Regions from separate parts of the Homo sapiens genome. Here region 2 is linked to region 1. Evidence: promoter capture Hi-C in human tissues and cell types (Jung and others, 2019). All regions are on one chromosome and are shown on one strand. Each heading gives the region's core, a stretch centred on a gene start or on the middle of the fragment in contact. The rest is flanking DNA. Distances are from core to core; before and after follow the strand shown.

Region 1 (4,598 bases), core at 541-3,040:
GCCGCTGAGACAATCAAACGTGTCCTCTGGGCTCTGAAACCCAGCATTGGCTTTTTGTTGGAAGTTAGCCATTTGAAGACTCCCGAAAGATTAATGGTTTAGTTAATTAAGGAGGAAATAAATTCTTCCCCCATGGAAACTTTTGGGAGACTTCCCTTTCAAGGCCCCCTTCTGCACCGTGTGCTTAGGAACACTGAGTGTTTGAGACACTGCACCCCCGTCCACCTCCGAGGAGCAGGGCACAGGCAGGAAGGGCTGGGGACATCCCCCCAGGGCCTTCCGAGCCACCCGGGAGAGTGGGGGCCGGCAGCACCACTGTGCCCCGCACGCCCCGTCAGGTTCCGGGGGCTGAGAACAGAAATAGAAACAGCAGCTTTTCCCTGGGCACAAGCCAAGGAAGAGGGGAAAGGAGAAACCTGACGGACACGTCTGCGACAAATCCCCGGGGAAAATCCCCCCCAGGCACGTCCCTCAGGAAGCCAGTGGAGAAACGCTTCTCAGGACCCAGCACGCACCACGGGCTGGTGAGGACGGAGCTGCTGCCTTTCTGGAACAGACACAGGGCGTGTGTGGGGAACCTTGCTTCACCTGTGGATATACAGAGCCACATGCCAACGTGTGAATGGAGACTGGTCCCAGGAAGTGGCAGCTCTCGGGACCGCCCTGAGCCAGGGCCCAAGCACGGGCAGTGCAAGGACAGGAAACGGTCAAAGCTCTGCTGTTACCACAGGCTGGGAACAGGACTCTCTGTCCCAGCACTGTCTTGGGCGTGTGCCCATGAACAGTTTGCACGGATGTGGGACACCTGCATTCACGAAGCTTTGGAGCCTGGGTAGGCTGGGAATCCCATGCTGGGTTTCGGGTCTCTGGAGATGGGACAGAGTAGGAGACCCTCTCGTGGTGTCTGCCCAGCTGGGCAGAATAATTCTGAGCAGAATAGACGAAGATGCTTCTGAGCTCCCTGGCAGCATAAGCTCTGCCCGAGAGCCTGACCACTCACAAGGTGACCTGCCTAGTCCTGTCCCCAGCTGTGGGGGGTGACCGTTCCCATCAATAGCAGAGGTGGCCCAGGCCCCACGTGACATTCGCTCTGTCCCAGGCCCCGCTGAGAGCCCCACCCAGCACATCCAGAATCTTACCCTTCTTGCCACCTAAGAATGACCTGGCCTCGAGGTCCTCCAAGTACAGGTCCCTGGCCCCGAGGTCCTCCAAGTACAGGTCCCTGGCCCCAAGGCCCTCCAAGTACAGGTCCCTGGCCCCGAGGTCCTCCAAGTACAGGTCCCTGGCCCTGCAGGTCTGGGTGAACTTGCTCCCTCCAGGCACACGGGTCTCTCCCCTTCCCAGCAATCCTGTGATATCTGCCCCCCTTTTGAGGGCAGCATTCCCGTGGCGGGGGCAGGCCTGGAACACACGGGCGGGGGGAGGCTTGTGGTTCCTATGGTCCTGGGGGTACCTATGGTCCTGGGGGCAACTGGATGGCTGGGGGGTGTGAAGTCCCCAGGGCAGGCAATAGTCGCTCAGTACCAGCCTCCAGGCCCCGGGGGCCACCAGGCTTAAAAGCAACAGGCGAGACGAGGGATCTGTCCCGCACCCGGCATCCCTGGCCTCTCCTCTGGGACAGGAAGATGGGGAGGGGCGGCAGGAGGTGGGCCTGGAGCAGGGCCTCAGAAGTCTCCTGGCCTTTCCCATCAGGAAGCACATCCTGTTGGTGTCTGGCTGCCGCGGCAGGGCCGCTATTTGTTGCGGTTGGCTACGCCTTCCAGCTCACCAAAAACAGTCTCAAAAACAACCATTTCCTCTCTGCTGAGAGCCAGGGAAGGCGAGCTCTGCGCACACGGGCGTCCCTGCAGCAGCCACTCTGCTTTCCAGGACCGGCCAACTGCCCTGGAGGCATCCACACAGGGGCCCAGGCAGCACAGAGGAGCTGTGAACCCGCTCCACACCGGCCACCCTGCCCGGAGCCTGGCACTCACAGCAGGCCGGTGCTAAGGAGTGTGGCGCGGGCTCGACTCCCACTGCTGCCGGCCTCCCGAGTGACTCTGTTTTCCACTGCTGCAGGCGAGAAGAGGCACGCGCGGCACAGGCCGGCCTCCGCTTCCCGGGAAGACGGCGCACTCCTGGCCCTGGGTTCTTGCTGCTGCCCACCCTCTGCTCCCTGGGATGGGCCCCGAGGCGAGCAGCTTCAGCACAGGCCTGGCCCTGCTCCAGGTGCAGGAAGGAGGATAAGGCCGGGCCGAGAGGCGGCACACCTGGACCATCCCATGGGCCTCCGCCCGCGCCGCCCCGAGGATGAGTGGTGATGTCCTCTAGCCACCCCTAGCAGCGTCGGCTCTCCCTGGACGTGCGGCCGCGGACTGGGACTTGGCTTTCTCCGGATAAGCGGCGGCACCGGCGTCAGCGATGACCGTGCAGAGACTCGTGGCCGCGGCCGTGCTGGTGGCCCTGGTCTCACTCATCCTCAACAACGTGGCGGCCTTCACCTCCAACTGGGTGTGCCAGACGCTGGAGGATGGGCGCAGGCGCAGCGTGGGGCTGTGGAGGTCCTGCTGGCTGGTGGACAGGACCCGGGGAGGGCCGAGCCCTGGGGCCAGAGCCGGCCAGGTGGACGCACATGACTGTGAGGCGCTGGGCTGGGGCTCCGAGGCAGCCGGCTTCCAGGAGTCCCGAGGCACCGTCAAACGTAAGTCCAATTGTTTTCCTGATGCCTTCAGCGTGGCCGAGGCTCGAGGGCACATGGGAGATGTTAGGCGCGGACCTGGTGAGCGGGTGGGGAGGCCTGGCCCCTGCTCTGCCCTGAGCGTGGCCTCTGGGCAGGCAGGAGGGGGCACTGTGTCTCCCAGGGAACCAGGCCCCAAGGCCCCCTCTCCCTGGTGAGTGGTGGCCCCACACACTCCTCCTGCTCAGCACAGAATCTGCCTCCAGCTCTTTTACACAGGAATTCATCTCAGGCATTTGGGGGGCCTCTCTGCCGTTACACATAGTTAAGAGATGGGTACATTAATCAAATCAAGGAAAGGCATTTTTCCTTGGTTGAAAATAATTATTACGGCTGGGCGCAGTGGTTCACGTCTGTAATCCTAGCGCTTTGGGAGGCTGAGGCGGGAGGACTGCTTGAGGCCAAGAGTTCAAGACGAACCTAGCCTACATAGCGAGAGACCCTGTCTCTGAACATAAAAAAAAAATGAAAATGCTCTTTCTTTACTCATGAGTAAAATAAACAAGAAGTTTAAAAATACACGGGTGAGTTCTGGCTTTGTTCTCACGGTTGTTGGGGTCTTTGAGGCAGAGAGCAGCAGCAGGATCCCCAGGGATGAGCTTCAGATGGGACGCTGGAAAGGAGACAGGGAGGCCAGGACGCTCGGAAGGGGACAGGGATGCTCAGTGGTTGCAGAGGAGAGGAAGGGGCTCAGAATGATGCCACCGCACCGTGGGGTTTGAGTGGCAGGTGTGAGGCTGCATAAATAGGAAGGCGCTTACAGCCCATGGGGTCATCTCAACAGTCACGGCACAGGGACACAAGGTCTCCCAAAGGCCGACTCTCTGAAACTGTCAGCAAGGTTTTGACTCGCAGACACCCCAAGTCTCTGCTGCAGAGCCTCACAGACTCGGGGTTGGACGCTCCTTCTGCTCTGAAGATAATGCTGGTCTCTGAGGCAGTGCCTCTGCTCCAGGCTTCCGAGGGAGTCCCGGAGTACTGGGGTAACACACATCACGTGTGCCTCAACCACACAGCTCCATCCCCAACCTGCCGCGCTCAGAACCCTCAGCGGGGAATGTCATCCCCACTTCACAGGCAAAGAAACTGAGGCTTTGCAGAAGGCATGTGGCTTGGACAAGGTCCCACGAGGGAATTCAACCCCCTTGTCCACTCAAAGGCCCTCGGCTGCACCGCACAGCCTGGACTGCGCACTTCCTCTCGCATCCTTCACCAGCAGGGACCAACAGCCGTCTTTTAAAAAGATCAAAGCCTATGAATAACTTCAAAGCTTCCACCGGCTCTCAGAACTCGGTGTCTTATGGGAAGCCCGAGGCTTGGGTCTCCGCGTGACTCCGGCCAGGCGCCCTTCTTCCAGACTCTGCCTGCTCTGCTGAAGAAGGAGCCGCAGCCCCGTTACTGTGCTGAACCTCTCGCGGGGGCAGCGGCTTTAGGCCCCTGGAGGTGGGGCCGGGCGCTCATGTGCTTTGGGACCATCACTGGCGTCCAGCCCACAGAGCACCCCCGGGGGAGGGAGTTCCCAGCCGGCCCTTGGCCGCAGCTCTGCACCTCCAGGCCTCCTAACTGCTGCCACCAACACCCACAGGTGGCCCAGGCAGCCCAATCTCAGGGCAGCTGGAAGCCTTGGCGCCCCTCCCTGTTGCTACCTCTTGCGTTCCTCCAGTCACAGGGCCGCGTGTAGCCTCTGGCACGACCTATGCATCCGTCCCAGGCGCCCGGCTGTCCACTTGCTTAGGCCTGCTCACCTCAGGCCAGCAGGACACACGAGGCCCCTCACAGAGCCCCCTGGACTGCCTCCTGCTCACCTGCCTGCGTCCACTGCTCCTCCCTGAGCCCTGGTCAGCCCCTTGGACAATATTTACAACATCCTCCTGCAACTTGT
Region 2 (4,598 bases), core at 1,268-3,767, 100 kb after region 1:
GTCTCCACTGCAAATGATAGCACCATGGTCCAGCGAGGGGCTTGGGCCGCAGGCACCGTGCCTGGCGCTGGTCTTCCTGGGGGACGGCCAGCCTTCCCAGGCCTCTCGCCCTCTACACTGGGACCCAGGTCTGCGTCGGCCCTCGTTCAGTCACGGGACCAAGTCATCCCCAGGTAGAATTCTGGCTTCTGGCTCAGAGCACCCTTTGGCTACTGGTGGCTTCTCCGGATGATGCTTTGTCCATCACCATCTCTGTCCTTGGGAGTCTTAGCTGCCTCCTGCCTCCGCCTATGAGAACTACCTCTCCAGCAGCGCACCTGTGCTGGGCCCTGCTCTTCATTCCTGTAGCTTCACACACAGCTTGGTCCTTCCAGATGTACCCCCAGAGCACCCCTCTGCCTTCTGAGCCTTCTTTCAGATGTCTCACATTCTGACCCAGGGTACCTGGACTGTGGCCACACTGCCACTCTTTGTGCCCTTGCCTGTGCCTCGTGGTGACCTAAAGTCCTTCGCCTTGGCCATTCCTGTGGTGTCCTCTGGGTGGGTTATGGCATCTTGACCATGGTGCATCAGCTTTGCCCGGAGCTTTGGGAAGAGCCAGGACCCAGCTCCCCTGTGTGACTGGGCAGAGCCCTGAGGGCCGCAGACACCCCCTGCCCACCACGCAGCTAGCTTCTCCACTGAAGAACCTCCACTGGGAGATTGTCACCGTTTCTGGAGATCCATGGAAACGGCTGTTGGTCTCTGCACATTAGGGGTACCCCTTGATTCGGGTCTGCCGCCGATGCGGTTTTGTTTGTTTGCTTTTGGTATCCACGTGACCATTCATGTAAGATTTTCTGCTGACTTCACCTATTTATAGCACATCAGTTCCGTTTTGTCCTATATTTGATGCCTGTGCTGGTCTTCTCATGTTCAGCTCACTTGTTTATTTGAAATCTCAGCACTGGTCAGATCCCGTCATCCAAGGCTGTTGTGGTTAATGTCAGGTTGTGGTGAGTGGCCTTGTGCCTTCCAGAGTGGCACGCAGCACCGACTTTTCATTGTCGGCCTCTTCCTGTGTCGTCTGTCCTTTGCATCGTTCATTAGTGCCTTTTTGAAAGACAGTCCAGGCTGCGCGCGGTGGCTCATGCCTGTAATCAGCACTTTGGGAGGCAGAGGCGGGCGGATCACGAGGTCAAGAGATCAAGACCATCCTGGCCAACATGGTGAAACCGCATCTCTACTAAAAATACAAAAATTAGCTGGGCATGGTGGTGCACACCTGTACTCCCAGCTACTCGGGAGGCTGAGGCAGGAGAATTGCACCACTGCACTCCAGCTTGGCCACAGAGCAAGACTCCGTCTCAAAAAAAAAAAAAGAAAGAAAGTCAGTCCATGAGAGCAGATCTGCCATCCACTGTGGCTGGTCTTGAAAAGCTCTCTATGGGGGAAGCTGGCCAGCAGCGGAGGGGACTGGGCAGCTGTTTAGTAGATGAGGTATAGAGAGAGGGATGGGATTCCAGGAGCTTCGGTCTAGTGTGCTTTGCTTGAACCATCTGCGGGCAGGGTGGGAAGCGTCTTTGGACCCTCAGGCTCCTGGCGTAGACTTATCTCCTCTTCTGAGGTTCAAATGCACATTCTACTTGCCAACCCAGGCTCTCTCCCATGTCAATTTCAGAAGGCAGTCAAAGCAAACATTTCTTTTCTAATTGTGTCACCTTTCCCTGTTAAACAACCTCCTAATCCTAAACTTGCTGGTGCGAGGAGGCCTCATTCCTCTTTGGCCCTTCTGTCCATCTAGGGTGAAGGGTAAATGCTCCCTCACACCTCTCGGTGGGGGGTCACACCCAACACAGGTCCTTTTCCCTTCTCCGTGTGGGCCCCTGTGCTTCCCTCTCTTCCTGACCTGGCACAGCAGGCTCCTACAGCCTTGGTGTCTCCTGTTCGTGCATCTTTGGTGTGACCCCACATGATGTGCCTTCTTCCTGTTGAGCTCACCGTTCTCCCGTGTTCTCCCGGGTTCTCTGATGGCCCTGACTGTCTCTTCAGCAGGGCTGTCTGCCTCCGTGCCAGCGGGCAGCGGCATTGGGGCACCCGATGCTGACTTGCCCAACAGGAGCATGAGGCTGGAGGCCACTAGGACACTGCGAAGTGACTGGCCCCATGGACTGTCATTGCGCATCAAACAGAGTGGCAACTTTTTCACGTTACATGTATTTTTGGCGTGCTTTGGAGTTTTGTTTTGTTTTGTTTTTTGAGCCAGAGTCTTGCTCTGTTGCCCAGGCTAGAGTGCCATGGCGCACTCTCAGCTCACTGTAACCTCCATCTCCCAGTTTCAAGCGATTCTCATGCCTCAGCCTCCCGAGTAGCTGGGATTACAGGTGTGCACCACCACACCCAGCTAATTTTATATTTTTTAGGAGAGATGAGGTTTCACTATGTTGCCAAGCTGGTCTTGAACTCCTGAGCTCAGGAAATCCACCTGCCTCGGCCTCCCAAAGTGCAAGGATTACAGGCGTGAGCCACCACGCCTGGCCTGTGCTTTGGAGTTTTGAAGAGCACACCGTGTGCACTTTATCATGGGTTTGTCTGACTCATCTTGTGGCGTGAGACACAGAGTGGTGGCAAGCGAGCGTGGAAGGGACTGACTCCGCCCCCAGCTTGGGGGCCTTGCGTGTGTGTTCGTCTTACTAATCTCCCGTGGTTTCCATGCACATCTGCGTTTCCTTGCTGCTGTCCATTGCTCAGTGGAGATTTTGCTTCACGAACTCAAAGTTGGATGAGGTGAGCTTGGTTCCTGTCCCTGAGTGTGTAATAAAACATGAGGTGCCACCTAGGAGGCCGTGGGGCCAGGCGGGGCATCAGGGACACCTCCCGGAAGCCCTGCTTCGTCCCAGGGTCCCACCTCCCCTGGGGTCCCTTGTCTGCAGTGTCTTGCTCTTGGTGCTACTTTCTTGTTTCTGGGTTGTGGGTTTTTTTCTTTTTGCCATTTCAAATAGTGGACTTTAAAATATATATTTTAGAAATGGGGATATTATTCACCCTTTTAAAGCATACAACTTAGTGGTTCTTAATGTACTTACAAGGTTATGCAGCCATTGCCACTCTCTAGTTGCAGAATATGTCCATTGCCCAGGAGGAAACCCTGTGCCCCGGTGCTGGGAGCCCTCAGTTTACTACCTCCTGTCTCTATGGATCGTTCTACTCTGGATGTTTCATAGAAATGGGATCACGTGCTATGTGTCCTTCTGTGCCTGGTTTCCTTCACTCAGCGTCAGGTTTCAGGGTTTGTCTGTGTTGTAGCGTGTGCCAGTCCTTTGTATGGCTGGATTATTTTCCTTTGGGTGGATGGCCACATTTTGCTTGTCTACTGAATAGTGGATCTTAAAGCTTTCCGAGTCATGGGCTCCTTTAAGAAAGTCTGATGAGGCCAGGCGTGGTGGCTCACGCCTGTAATCCCAACATTTTGGGAGGCCGAGGTGGGCGGATCACCTGAGGTCAAGAGTTTGAGACCAGCCTGACTAACGTGGTGAAACCCCGTCTCTACTAAAAATACAAACATTAGCAGGGCGTGGTGGCGCATGCCTGTAATCCCAGCTACTTGGGAGGCTGAGGCAGGAGAATCCCTTGAACCTGGGAGGCGGAGGTTGCAGTGAGCTGAGATCGCGTCACCGCACTCCAGCCTGGGCAACAAGAGCGAAACTCTGTCTCAAAAAAAAAAAAAGAAAGAAAGAAAAAAAGAAAGTCTGATGAGCCCTTAGGTCTTAGGTCTTTCTCTCAGAAGAGCCTTTGAGAGCAGTTGGCCTGTGCTTAGCCGTGTCCGAGACCCATGGTCCAGAATCCTCCTCATATCTTGAAAGCCTGCTTCTCCATTTACCAGTCTTAGGGCCTTGAGAACAGGTCTCTGAGGAGAGAACTAGAGAGGACAATTGTGAGAGTAGAGGGGACAAATGGCCTTCACCCCTGCTCTGTGAAGTGACCCAAAGGGGCCTGGACTGTGTTGTCACTTGGTTTCCCTAGCAGGATTAGGTCTGGTGTAATACAGTAACAAAATGCAAAATAGCAGTGGCCCAAGCGCCTCAGAATTCACTGTCTCGTGGCAGAGACGCCTAGAGGCTGGCGCCCAGGGCAGGCAGGACCCAGGTGCCTCCCATTCTTGTGCTTGGCTGTCCTTGGTGACAGCTCCAGGCAGTGGCTCTTGAGGAAAGAGGGGTGGGAAAAGGGGAACCCTCCTGCCCAAATCAGGCTCTTTAAGGAGGCTTCTGGAAGTCTCCACTACTTCCAGTGGTGTAGCCATGACCAGCTGTCCATGTCTCAGCCTGTTTGCCTCCCAAATAAAACAGGGGCCTTGGCTGGGCACGGTGGCTCATGCCTGTAATCCCAGCACTTTGGGAGGTTGAGACAGGTAGATCATTTGAGGTCAGGAGTTCGAGACCAGCCTGGCCCACATGGTGAAACCCTGTCTCTACTAAAAATACAAAAATTAGCCAGGCCATAATGGTGTGCACCTGTAATCTCAGCTACTTGGGAGGCTGAGGCAGGAGAATCTCTTGAGCCTGGGAGGCAGAGGTTGCGGTGAGCCGAGATCATGCCACTGCACTCCAGTCTGGGCGAGA

Evidence for each region. The method cuts DNA at HindIII sites, captures the fragments that hold promoters and counts their contacts. A contact is called where the count stands out against the background at its distance.
Region 2: a contact is called between a fragment that was not itself captured here and the fragment with the promoter of TMEM204 in region 1, in 4 of the 25 tissues and cell types used here (dorsolateral prefrontal cortex, lymphoblastoid cells, mesenchymal stem cells and 1 more).

What each region holds. Positions count from the first base shown.
Region 1 is chr16:1,531,876-1,536,473 of GRCh38, forward strand. It overlaps TMEM204 (transmembrane protein 204), which reads left to right and starts at 1,791. Exons shown (of 3, transcript NM_024600.6): 1 at 1,791-2,680. The coding sequence starts at 2,401. All of the region lies in intron 19 of IFT140 (intraflagellar transport 140), which reads right to left. RefSeq lists enhancers at 1,117-1,820, 1,821-2,524. The HindIII fragment of the contact is 11,677 bases long and covers 1-2,402 here.
Region 2 is chr16:1,632,679-1,637,276 of GRCh38, forward strand. The region is part of intron 4 of CRAMP1 (cramped chromatin regulator 1); the gene reads left to right. Among named protein-coding and RNA genes, the nearest start is that of CRAMP1, 23 kb to the left of the region's middle. The HindIII fragment of the contact is 4,859 bases long and covers 89-4,598 here.